Linked DNA regions of Homo sapiens: regions 1, 2 and 3 are each linked to region 4. Evidence: promoter capture Hi-C in human tissues and cell types (Jung and others, 2019). All regions are on one chromosome and are shown on one strand. Each heading gives the region's core, a stretch centred on a gene start or on the middle of the fragment in contact. The rest is flanking DNA. Distances are from core to core; before and after follow the strand shown. Region 1 overlaps TRAPPC9 (trafficking protein particle complex subunit 9). Region 2 overlaps TRAPPC9 (trafficking protein particle complex subunit 9). Region 3 overlaps TRAPPC9 (trafficking protein particle complex subunit 9). Region 4 holds the start of AGO2 (argonaute RISC catalytic component 2).

The links. Contacts are between HindIII fragments. The study calls those that stand out against the background at their distance.
Region 1: a fragment that was not itself captured here is called in contact with the fragment with the promoter of AGO2 in region 4 in 1 of the 25 tissues and cell types used here (mesenchymal stem cells).
Region 2: a contact is called between a fragment that was not itself captured here and the fragment with the promoter of AGO2 in region 4, in 1 of the 25 tissues and cell types used here (hippocampus).
Region 3: a contact is called between a fragment that was not itself captured here and the fragment with the promoter of AGO2 in region 4, in 1 of the 25 tissues and cell types used here (mesendoderm cells).

The regions. Positions count from the first base shown.
Region 1 is chr8:140,360,532-140,363,412 of GRCh38, reverse strand. All of the region lies in intron 8 of TRAPPC9 (trafficking protein particle complex subunit 9), which reads left to right. Among named protein-coding and RNA genes, the nearest start is that of TRAPPC9, 96 kb to the left of the region's middle. The HindIII fragment of the contact is 7,619 bases long and covers 1-2,881 here.
Region 2 is chr8:140,211,483-140,214,182 of GRCh38, reverse strand. All of the region lies in intron 17 of TRAPPC9 (trafficking protein particle complex subunit 9), which reads left to right. It overlaps LOC124902029 (a long non-coding RNA gene), which reads right to left. Exons shown (of 2, transcript XR_007061118.1): 1 at 2,032-2,700. Among named protein-coding and RNA genes, the nearest start is that of PEG13, 110 kb to the right of the region's middle. The HindIII fragment of the contact is 6,293 bases long and covers 1-2,700 here.
Region 3 is chr8:140,299,320-140,302,019 of GRCh38, reverse strand. TRAPPC9 (trafficking protein particle complex subunit 9) reads left to right here. Exons shown (of 23, transcript NM_001160372.4): 11 at 1,406-1,551. Among named protein-coding and RNA genes, the nearest start is that of TRAPPC9, 160 kb to the left of the region's middle. RefSeq lists enhancers at 1,966-2,466, 2,467-2,700. The HindIII fragment of the contact is 8,746 bases long and covers 1-2,700 here.
Region 4 is chr8:140,634,150-140,636,995 of GRCh38, reverse strand. It overlaps AGO2 (argonaute RISC catalytic component 2), which reads left to right and starts at 1,363. Exons shown (of 19, transcript NM_012154.5): 1 at 1,363-1,511. The coding sequence starts at 1,490. ERICD (E2F1-regulated inhibitor of cell death) reads right to left here and starts at 2,761. Exons shown (of 1, transcript NR_170171.1): 1 at 1-2,761. RefSeq lists silencers at 799-1,198, 1,849-2,018, 2,502-2,551 and an enhancer at 2,358-2,846. The HindIII fragment of the contact is 25,430 bases long and covers 1-2,846 here.

The DNA of each region.
Region 1 (2,881 bases), core at 136-2,635, 270 kb after region 4:
AAGTCTACTAACACCCTGTACCTGTAAATAAAAGGCAAATTGTCTGTATTCTCAGGTCCCAAAATGTATTCTTTTTCTTGAAATGAACATTTGCACTAGCTGGTTATAGACGGTCGAGGAAGGAACACTGATGTGTGCTGTGTGTACTTGCCGGCTTAAGGGGCCGCTTAGTATCATTTAAATCTTATTTGTGTTGCTGTATATGAAGATTTTTGATCATGCCTTTTCCTGGACGAGGGATTAAATTTTGCCCAGGAACTCTTATGAAAGAAAGAGACTGCTAAGGCAGATGGATTTGCTAAAAGGCAATAGTTCATATACAAAATAAACCTCCAAATTGGTGAAATTTTTGATTACAAGAGTATTGAAAATTTTATCACTGGGTCATATGCTGCAAATCTGCCTTCAGAAAAATAATTCACATTTTATAGGGAGAGCACTTTGAGCCACATAGAAATTATGACTTGTACACTATTTACTGTTAAGAAAATGTATACTCGGTCTTACTCATAATCGCCCGTGGTAGGAACTGGATCATTATCTATTTTTAAAAGAATCAGCAAAGTGATATTTGCCCAATTCTTATGTGAGAAAACCTTCTGGATATGGTAGTGTTGAGATTAGTTAAATTGGGTCTTTCTGAATTCATGGCTAGGTTAGTCATGACATTGATTTCAGCTTCATAATCTTTAAAAAAATCTCTTCTTCATTTTGGCATTTGGTCTTGGCTTCTTTTGACAATGTGGAATATTGCAGGGACTCGTCTTTCTCTCCTTTCCTGCAGTTGTATGAGAAGTACTACCATTTTATATTCCAAAAGATGTCGGGAAGATAAACTACTAAGATATAAAGTAGTGTTTTTTTTATTTTTATTTTTATTTTTTTTTAAGTGTGTGTATGGTCAGCTCCAAGGATTTCAATGAGAAGTTATGGAGAAATACTTTAAATATATACAAATTAGAGAGGATAGAATAGAATATTGTGTCCATTGCCCAGATTAAATCATTATCAAAATTTGACCACATTGGCTTTATTTTTACTTTATTGGTTTTTTTGTTGAAGTATTTAAAGCAGATCCTAGAAACCACATCACTGTACTCCTTCATAGCTGTATGCACGTCCGCAACATGGGAGGGTTTCCTTTCACCAGCCTTACGTCTTGATCCACGTGTGTGTTAAGTACCAACTTTGTTATCAGGCACCCTGCCAGGCATTAAGGACACTTGAATGGATAAGACATAAACCTGCCTCCCAAGGAAATTAAGGATTGATGAGAGAAACAAAGACATGAGATTACAGGTGCCTTATGGTACCTGCCAGATAACTCCTGTGGGCTGAAATTTGTGCAAAATACAGCGGAAATACAGAAGAGGGACTGGTCAGCTGTGCAGGGCAGAGTGCTGAGGGAAGAGCTCAGGAAGGGCTGTGAGCGGTGGAACCCTTGGAGCAACGTCTTCAAATATCAATGGGCAAACAGAGAAAGGTTAGGATAGAAGGAAGGGCCCCTGCTATTTGCGTTAGGGAGGAGGCATCCCTTCTTGTTCTGTTTGCTCGCCAGTCAGCCTCAGCCGAGCGCCCAGTCTCACGTCAGGCCCTGTCCTGGGGATGCAATAGTAAGTAACGCACAGTCTTCAGGTACAGGAAGTCATACCTGAATGGGGGATTTTGACACACAAGCAGGTAATTTTACTTAATAAATAATCTCAATAGGGATTTAAAAAAATGGAGGACTCATTCTTAGTGAAACAGTGGAACAGGTTGGATCATTAATCATGTCACAGCTAGAGTCAAAGGTTGACCTGTGTGTTAACCACATTATATTCATTGAATAATAATATTAATAGCAACTAGCATTTATTGAGAACTTATGATAAATAAACTGCTGAAGTGCTTTAAATGGGTTATTGCACTGAAGCCTTATAACTTTAACTTGTACTCCGACTACTGTCTCCGTTTTACAGTTTGGCGTGGCCCCCTTCTCATCGAGGGTTCACCCCAGATGTCACCTCCTTGCCCACCTGCCCTGGCTGACGCAGCATCTCTCAGCCCCATCAGCCCTCACTATTACTGTTTGTGTTCGTCCCAGCATCCACCAGCATGCTGTTTCCCAGGGCTGAGGCCTGACTCTTCCCACAAGAGTGTCAATGGCACGAGAACCTGCCCTGCACAGTATTGTGTTCTCAGTAAATACTTGTTAACCAACCGACTGTCGTGAGCTATTACGGACTTTCAGTGCGTGGCAGTTTTGTCAGAGTTTGAATGTGCATTTATGCGTTTTTTCATGGTCTAAGTTTTGGATCAGCTGGAGCAGTGATTAGCCAGTCTGTGTGGTTGGTTATCAGAGCCATTGGCAGGGTGTGTGTGTTAACACAGATTGGCTGGGAGCAGTGGCTCATACCTGTAATCCCAGCACTTTGGGAGGCCAAGGTAGGAGGATGGTTCTAGGTCAGGAGTTCAAGACCAGCCTGGGCAACATGGGGAGACCCTGTCTCTACTGGAAAAAAAAAAGTAGTTGGGCATGGCGGTGTGTAACTGTAGTCCCAGCTACGCAGGAGGCTGAAATGGGAGGATTGATTGCTTGAGCCCTGGAGGTCCAGACTGCAGTAAGCTGTGATTGCACCACCACACTCCAGCCTGGATGACAGAGAAAGACCTCATCTCTTAAAAAAAGAGATACTTTTCAACTGTCTGTGCATCCAGATTTCTCCGTCTTTAATTCAAAGATGCTAAACTGTTTTGGAGTGAGCAGCTGTAGAATTTAACTTTTTTTTTTTCTAATTTAGCTATCTACTTTTCTTCATTTTTCTTATATTTTAGAGAAATATTATATTTTTGATTTAATGTTGTTGGTTGTTGATAATGAAGGCCCTTCAAATATGAG
Region 2 (2,700 bases), core at 175-2,674, 420 kb after region 4:
GAGAAGGGCCCAAACTTGGTGCCCACATCACGGACTGGGGCTGCAGAAATGCCCGGCAACAGGAGGCTTTTCCCTGAGTTGGACTGTGTGCCGTGTGGCACTAGAGGTACCCATGGCTTTGCCTGTTGAAGGCATCCAACTTATGCACAGCCTTCAGAGCTGCATAGAGATGTGGGAGCCAGCTGAGACCTGGAGGATAAAGCATTCCAAGTGGCTGGAACGACTGTGAACAGTCAGGGAGCGGACACCAGCATGCACGGCTGCAGCCATTTATCGTGGTGTGCTCTCTGGCTCTGAATAGATTCTACTACCCTCCATGTGCAATACTGCTCTGTAAACACTCCACACCTGCTTATAGCTTGCTGGAAAGCAGTTTTGAAATCCTAACGAAACTAGTTTGCCAGGAGGCGGGGCCAGGCCTCCCTTAAGCTCTGTGCATGGTTGGCTTTGGGGAGCCTGTTGGTTCCTGCTCCCCCTTGTCAACATCTTATCTCTTAACATTTGAGCAGGTAGGTGTAATAGCTGTAGCTTCATTCATGGGAAGCTCCTGTGGGAGCCAGAGGTTGTGCTTCACTTTAAGAAATTAGAAAAAAAAAATGTAGATTAAACCCAAAGTCAGTAGAAAAGGAAATAATAAAGATCAGAGTGGAAAACAATGAAATAGGAAACAGAAACCCAACATAGACAAAGCAACCAAAAGCTTATTTTTGGAGAACAGTTAATGAAATTCATCAGCTTCCAGCCAGATTGATCAGAGAGAAGACACAAATTAACAGTATTAGAAATGAGAGAGTTGGCATAACACAGATTTTATAGATATTAAAATGATAAGAATATATTATAAAAAGTTTATGCTAATAAATGTGAAAACTGAGATGATGTGACAAATTCCTTAGAAGACACAAAATACCAATGCTTACACACAGATATAGACAACCACAATAGACATAGCCACTTAGGAAACAGAATGTTTTGTTAAAACCTTCCCATATGAGATCATGAGGGCTCAGAAAGAAAATTGAAATGGAAAATATAATAAAATAAAAAAGTCAACAAAAAAGAAGATTAGAAAGTAAAAAAACAAAAAAACAAAAAAACTTTTTTTTTTTTTTGAGACAGAGTCTTGCTCTGTCACCAGGCTAGAGTGGTGCAGTGGCACGATCTTGGCTCACTGCTACCTCTGCCTCCTGGGTTCAAGCGATTCTCCTGTCTCAGCCTCCCAAGTAGCTGGGACTACAGGTGTGCGCCACCATGCCCAGCTAATTTTTATATTTTTTGTAGAGACCATGTTGGCCAGGATGGTCTCGATCTCTTGACCTCATGATCTGCCTGCCTCGGCCTCCCAAAGTGCTGGGATTACAGGTGTGAGCCACCATGCCCAGCCAAAAAAAACTTCTTAAAAAAGACAAAAGAAAAAAAACGCCTTCCCATAGAGAAAATTTTGGGGCCAGATGGCTTACTTATGCATCTTACCAAACACTTAAGGGAGAAATAATATGAAATCTATGTAGACTCTTCCTTCAGGAAACCTAAAAATGAAGGAATACTTCTTAAGTCATTCTGTGAGGTCAACATTTCTCTGATACCAAAACCAGGCAAAGAGATCATGGGGGAAAAAAATCCCCAAAGAGTACAACCCAAAGCACTACAGACCAATATCCCTCCTGAACACAGATGCAAAAATTTTAAGCAAAAATTGAGCATCTACTATTTAACCCTATGTAAAATATTGACGGACTGGGGTTTATCTGGGGAATGCAAGGTTAGCTTAACATGAGAAAACCTGCAAATGTAATTCTGCATATTGGCAAACTGAAAATGGAAAACTATGTATGCCATCTCAAGAGACAGAAAAAGCGTTTGATAAAAACCCAGCATCTATTTAGAATGAAAACTCTCAGCAAATCAGAAACAGGATGGAGCTTCCTCTGCCTGATGAAATGCATCTACCAGCCCTGGGCAGCTACCCCTGTCCTTCACCATGAGAGGTGGCCTGCGCTTGCCTGAGGCCAGCCATCCGCATCTGCTTACCTGGCTGGATGAGGCGTGTCTTCTTGCATTGCTGGTCCTGAGCGCAGGCTCTTTGCTTGGCTGGGCCTTCTTGCTCACTTCCTTTCATTCATGGCATGCTCCTCTGTCCTCCTGGGTGAGCTCTGAGGTCACCTGGTCTGCTGAGCCTTCCTCCGCAAGTGGCACACCCAGAGTCAGGCCCTTCTTCCTGTGTCCTCGTCTGCTGTCCGTTCCCACCTGGATGGTAGCACCTCCCACACTGTTACTGTTGTCCTTTGCTTATATTGCTGAGCTCCCCATCACTGTAAGCGCCTCGTGGCCATGGGCTTGTGAAGCATGCCTTCTGTACACATTTCTTGACCCGGATATTCCAGACAGTGAGGCCAGACAGCCCCTCTCCATGGGGTTGCCTGAAGATTCTCTTCATTAGTGAGGCAAAGCAAGGCAGTAAAGTATGTTTTATCTCATTCGATCAGAATAAAGCTTAACTCTGGGTTTTTTGGGATTCTAACAACATTCAGATACGTCATGTAAAATACGTTACTTTAGCTTTTAAAATAAAGAATTGTGGGATGTTTATGAAGTTTCTATATACTTTTATATTTTTTTCTTAAGAGACAGGGTTGTGCTCTGTTGCTCAGGCTAGAATGCAGTGGTGTGATCACAGCACACTGTAGCCTTGACCTCCTG
Region 3 (2,700 bases), core at 79-2,578, 330 kb after region 4:
GGCAGAAAAATTAACCCTGAAATCTTCGTGATTTACTGTAACAACAGTTTCTACCTCCCTCACACAAGTTTGGTGTGGGTTGGGTGGCTCTCCAGGGCAGCTGAGCTCTGGGAGGTTGCTGAGTGCTCCAGGCCGCATCTGTCTGGTGCTCCACCTTCTCAATGTCCAGCCTCCAGGATCACCATGGCCGTGCAGCCGAAGGAGAGAGCTGGGGGCTGGCCCGTCACTCTAAAGTGTGTGTCTCACAGAGGCCTCGGTGGCTCCCACTCACAACCTACTGGCCAGAGCTCCTCAGGTGGCCTCACCTTCCTGCGGAGGCCGGGAGGCGGGGGGTGGGGAGCACGTAGATTTATCACGATCAGTGTCACTATCAGTCTTCCTGTTTTCCCACCTCTGCTCCTTGTCCTTTCTGTCTGACGTCCAGGAGTGTTCCAGATCTTAACCACCGTCTTCCCAAACTGGTCACAAGGGTGACAGCACCTTCTAGTACTGTGGTTTAAGAGCATAGTGTCACCTGTTGTTACTGCTTTCCAGCCATCGGATTTGCGACAGTATACTTAGTCCCTCTTGCGTGAGTTTCCTTATTGATGACATGGAGACAATAGTAATAGTACCCAAACTAAGAAGGTGTTTGTGATGTTTAAGTGAGAGAATACATATGCAGTGGTTAGCACAGTGCCTGCTCATGCTCAGACTCCATGGATTGGTAAATTTATCTTAATGCTAGCTGGATGAATTCGAGCATGAGTACAGATTGGCAGACATCCACAGCTGGGATACTGTGGGAAGCGATGACAGATACAGATGCTGCTGCATGCGAGTAGAGCAGAGGGTGCTGTTGACCTTCTCATGGGTGCCATCTCTTCCCATGGGTCAGAGTCTGGCTGCCACTTGCTGTGGGCAGGTCCCTTGGGAAAGGGAGAGGCAGAGAGAGAAGAGCCATCCTGGGCCAGGCAGTGGGCCCTGTGCCAGGAGTCTTTAGCTGGATCCTCCCCATGGGTCCATGGGGAAGGTGGTGGCCCCACCTGCACTTTATACACAAGGAACCTACGTCTTAGAGATGGCAAGGCACGTGCCCAAAGGCACACAGCTGGTAAGTGTGAAGCGAGATTTCAAGCTGGCCTTTCTGACTCCAGACCATCCTTGGGCCCAGTTCAGGAGTCCCCAGAGGGAAGTGGCTGCTCCCCCAGTTCCAGGGAGTGATTTCCCCTGTCTGGGAGAATCTTGAGTTACTGTTGCAACACTTCCTTGCTGTGTCCTGATGCCTCGGAGTGCTTTTCCTCCCTCCATTTATCTTCCTTCTGACTGATTTACTGTTTTTCTGATACATCATGTTTGGTTATGTTTATCCTGAAACCACGCTAACCAGACAGTTGAAGTATTTGTGTTCTGTTTGAAACAACAGGCATGTGAAACTATTGAACCTTCCTGCTAGCCTCCGGCCACACAAAATGAAAAGCTTGCTGGGTCAGAACGTGTCAACCAAAAGTCCTTTCATCTATTCACCAATTATCGCACACAACCGTGGAGAAGAGCGGAACAAGAAAATAGGTAGGACGTCGATCCTGGCTTTCCCACCGTGCTCTGCCACCTGATTTCCAATGGCTTTTCTAGATTTTTAGAACAGCATTTTGAGCCAGTTCATGCATGTGCATGTGTGTGCGTGCGTGGATGTGTGCACGCATGCATATGTGTGTATATGTGTGTGCATGTGTGCATGCATGCATATGTATGTGTGCATGCGTGCATATGTGCGTGTATGTGTGTATGCATGCGTGCGTGCATGCATATGTGTGTTTACATGTGTCCATGTGTGGATGTGTGCACAGATGTGTGCGTGTGTGTGCGTGTGTGCAGTCTGTCATGGAAGTTTATTTGATTTGCTGCTTTTGGCAGGCAATTGCCCATAGATGTGATTTTAAAAAATTTATTTCATATAAGGTAATTTTGTGAAAGTTCTGGAAACCAGAAAGACTTTTGTTAACTGAGACTTATGTGAACTACAGAAGAGTGACAGTTGGAGATGTAGACTGATTTTACAAGGGCTGAAGTGACTTCTGAGTCATCAGAGAAAGATTCAGGGTTGGATGGTGTTCAGGACTGAGTGGAGGGTGAGGTAATCGTGTTATGTTCTTTTGTGAACACAGGTGATCAGGATAGTCAGTCCTGGGTTAAGCTGTGTTGTGGGAGAGACTGGGAGTGGACAATCTCTCCTGAGCTTTCCTGTGTCTGAGCTCTCGTCCCTCCTGCACCAGGGCTCAGCATGCACCACCGGCCCTGTCCCTTGGTGTCCTTCCCAAAGCCCGGCTGTAGTGCCAAGCTCCCCATCCCTTGCTGCCACAAAGACATGCCCGAGGCCCCTTGCAGGAGATTGTGACTGCCAGTCACTGGGGACCACTGCCGGCTGAGCCCACACGTCCTGTGACAGAACCTTGAGGGCCTGGAGGCTGGCCGCTGCTTGGCGACTGCCGGGGCCTCCGAGGAGTGTGAGCGGGAGGCCTGCGCAACCGCGGCGCTCTGTGTTTGATATCCAGTGCTTTCTTCTCCTTCTGTTTCTTTATTTCTACTCTTAATTCCTGTACCTCCAATTTAGGAAGAAGGCATTCCGGCTCCTTTTTCCACCATGCTTTTCTTTCCAGGACAGAGGCTTCCTGTTGCACTCGCAAGCTCACCCACACCCCGAGTTACGGACTGCAGGCG
Region 4 (2,846 bases), core at 114-2,613:
TTCTGTCAATTATTTACTACTTAATGATGCTTCCCTAAAGAATGCAGTTTAATTTTGCCTGTTTTGGAATTTTTGTGAATGGCTAGATTCCATCCTGTGAATATGAGCACACTGTTTCTCCATCCTGCTCTCCGTGGGTATTCAGTGCCATGCAGTCCAAGCGGTGATGAAGAATGCCATGCACACTCCTACCCAGGTTTCCTGGTGTTCATTACTACACATTTCAGGAGCACGTTTTGTATCGGCAACTTGGTGAAGACTGATGTCCTTTTGAGTTTTCGGAGGAAGTGCTGGTTCTCCTGCCCTTCTTCAGGGCTGTCCTCCGAGACTGCAGAGAACTAGTGACCACCCTGCTGGCTGCGGAGCTCCTGTCAGTCAGAACTCCTGTTTATTCTCCGCCCGGAACAGGGCCTTGCACCCATATGCAGACAGCCGATGCCACGGGGTGAAGGAATGCTCCGGGAAATCTGGGAAAAGGCGACCAGGCACTTTAGATTGTGGGTCAACCTCTGCCTTCTAATCCTCCATCACTTAGGGGAGAAAGGAGGTAGCCACAGGCTGGCTTTTCCAGGAAAGCCTCCGAAAACCAGACGGACCCAGAGGGACCGGACAGAAACGCTCGGAGGTGCACGACGGTCCGAGCAGGCCCCTGACTGCTGGAATGGGCGTGTCCGCTGATCTGATCCCTGATACCAGCTACAGTTTACTAAAAACTTCTTAGATTTTCTCAGTGCTTTAAACGGATTATCTGGGTTCTGGGGCCGCGCCGGGAGGTGGCGGTGTGGTCCTGCGCGAGCGGCCGGCCGCGTTCAAGTTCAAGCTCCGGGCTGGGAGGGAGCTTCCCGACCTCCGTGTTTCTGTAGTAACTTAAAGAGCCAGGCTGGGGGCCGAGGGGCTGAGGGTGGGAGGGTTCTGCGCCCCCCACCGGGGGGCGGCGGGGAAAGCGGGGGCGCGTGGCCTCCCCTCCGGCTCCGGCGGCACAGCCGGGGGGCCCGGCTCCTCCCCGTCGGGAAGACGCGGCTTCTCTGGGTGGCAGTGAAGGGTCCCCGGGGCCGCGCCCGCCCCCGCGCCACACGGGCCGCGCCGCCCTCGGCCCTCGTCCCCGCTCCCGCCCGCGGTTCCCACCGCCCGGCGAGGTCTCCGGGCCCCTCCCCGGGTCCCCGCCCCAGGCCCCGCCAGACCCGGCGCCGCCGCCGCCGCCGCCGCGGACCCCGCCCGCGCGCCCAGCCCCGCTCCCCCCGCGAGCGCGCTCCCGCCGCCGGCCTCGCCTCCCCTCCCCCTCCCTCCTCCTTCCTCCCCCGCCCCTCCCGCTCCCGCTCCCGCCGCCGCCTCCGCCCGCCGCCCCGGCCGCGTCGGGTAAACCTGTTTGGCGAGGCGGCCGCGCCGGGGCGGATCGTGCGGCCGGCGGCTCCCTCGCGGCTCGCGGCGTCGGGGCCCGTGGCGCGCGCGCGGCCGCCCCTCGGCCCCGGAGCCCCTCGGCGGCGCCACCATGTACTCGGGAGCCGGCCCCGGTGAGTCCTGGCGCTCGGGGCGCCCGCCCGGCCGTTCGCGCGCTCCTGCCCGTGGTTGGCGGGCCCGGCGCGGGCGGCAGGGGCCGGGGATCGGGGGGCCGCGGGGTCGGGGCGGCGGGGGCCGGGGGCGGGCGAGCCGGGGCCGCGCTTGGGGGCTCGAGGAGCGGCGGCGGCGGGGCCGAGCCGGCCGTTTTCTCGGCCCCGCGTTGGACGCGCAGCCCCGGCCTCCTCGGCCCCCGCGAGTCGTCGGGGCGCCCCGCGCGGCCTGGGCCCCTCCCGCGCCTCGGGCCCGCGTCCCAGCGTCCTCGCATCCCCCGCCCGGGGCCCGCGGGCTGGGGCCGGGGCCGAGGCGGCCGCCGCGTGTAGGCCCGAGGCCCGGAGCGCCCCGCTTGGCCCGGCCTCGCTGCCCGGGCGGGGATGGGGGCGCCGCAGCCCGGCCCGGCCTGACCCTGAGCGCCTGAGCGGGTGGAGGCCGGGTCGGGGCGCCCGGCTCGGGGCGCGCACGGGCGGGAGGGGAGGGGGCTGCGCCGGTCCCGACCCCAGCCGCGGTGAGTCTGTGGCGCGCTCCGTTGTGGCCCTTCTTGTTGCCGGCACTTCTTCGGCCCCTTTTCCCAAGGAAAGTCTGGAAATGCTGAATTTTGGCCAATTCCTGTAGTTAGGGCTGTCGCCTGGAAAGGGGAGGACGCGGCTCCCCGGAACCCTCAAACTGCGTGCGCGGCTCGTTCTCATTCCAGACACGCCGGCCTCCCCATTCAAGTGCTAATTCCTTTTACAATTTCCTAGGAGAGGTGAGGCGAGGTGGATTCCTGTAGCACCCCTTGTTGCTAGTCGGCCTTTCTCTGGAAAAGTTCTAAAAAACTTAAAGCGGTAACGCGTTGTTTTTCTTTTTAAATGCAGAGTAGAAGGCGGTCTCCTTGGTGGGCCAAAAAAACGGTCAGGTGTTCTCCTGCTTTTGGCGTGCTCCCACCGGGCACGTGGCTCCTGGCTCTCTCGGCCGGCCTGGCCGCTGGGACGGGGCACCGCCTGCTCCCCTTTGTCCGCTGGGCCCCAGCCGGGCCGCAGGCGGCGCAGGCCCCGCCGGGCTCTGGGCTTATGTTTACCCGGCCGGGCGAGGAGGCTCGCATTCCCGATGCTGCCCTCGTTGCTGCAGACCGGCCCCAAATTGTGGGGTCCGGAAGGCCCCCTGGCCCACCTTGGTCCGTTGATGGTGGCCCCCACTGCTGGAGCTGTTGGCTCTGTGCCTTGCGAATGTCGCGTCTTTTTTCTGATGTCATTTAGAAAGCTTCAACAAGGCGGAGTCTGACCAACTTTTCAACCCCTGAGGGCCATCAGCAG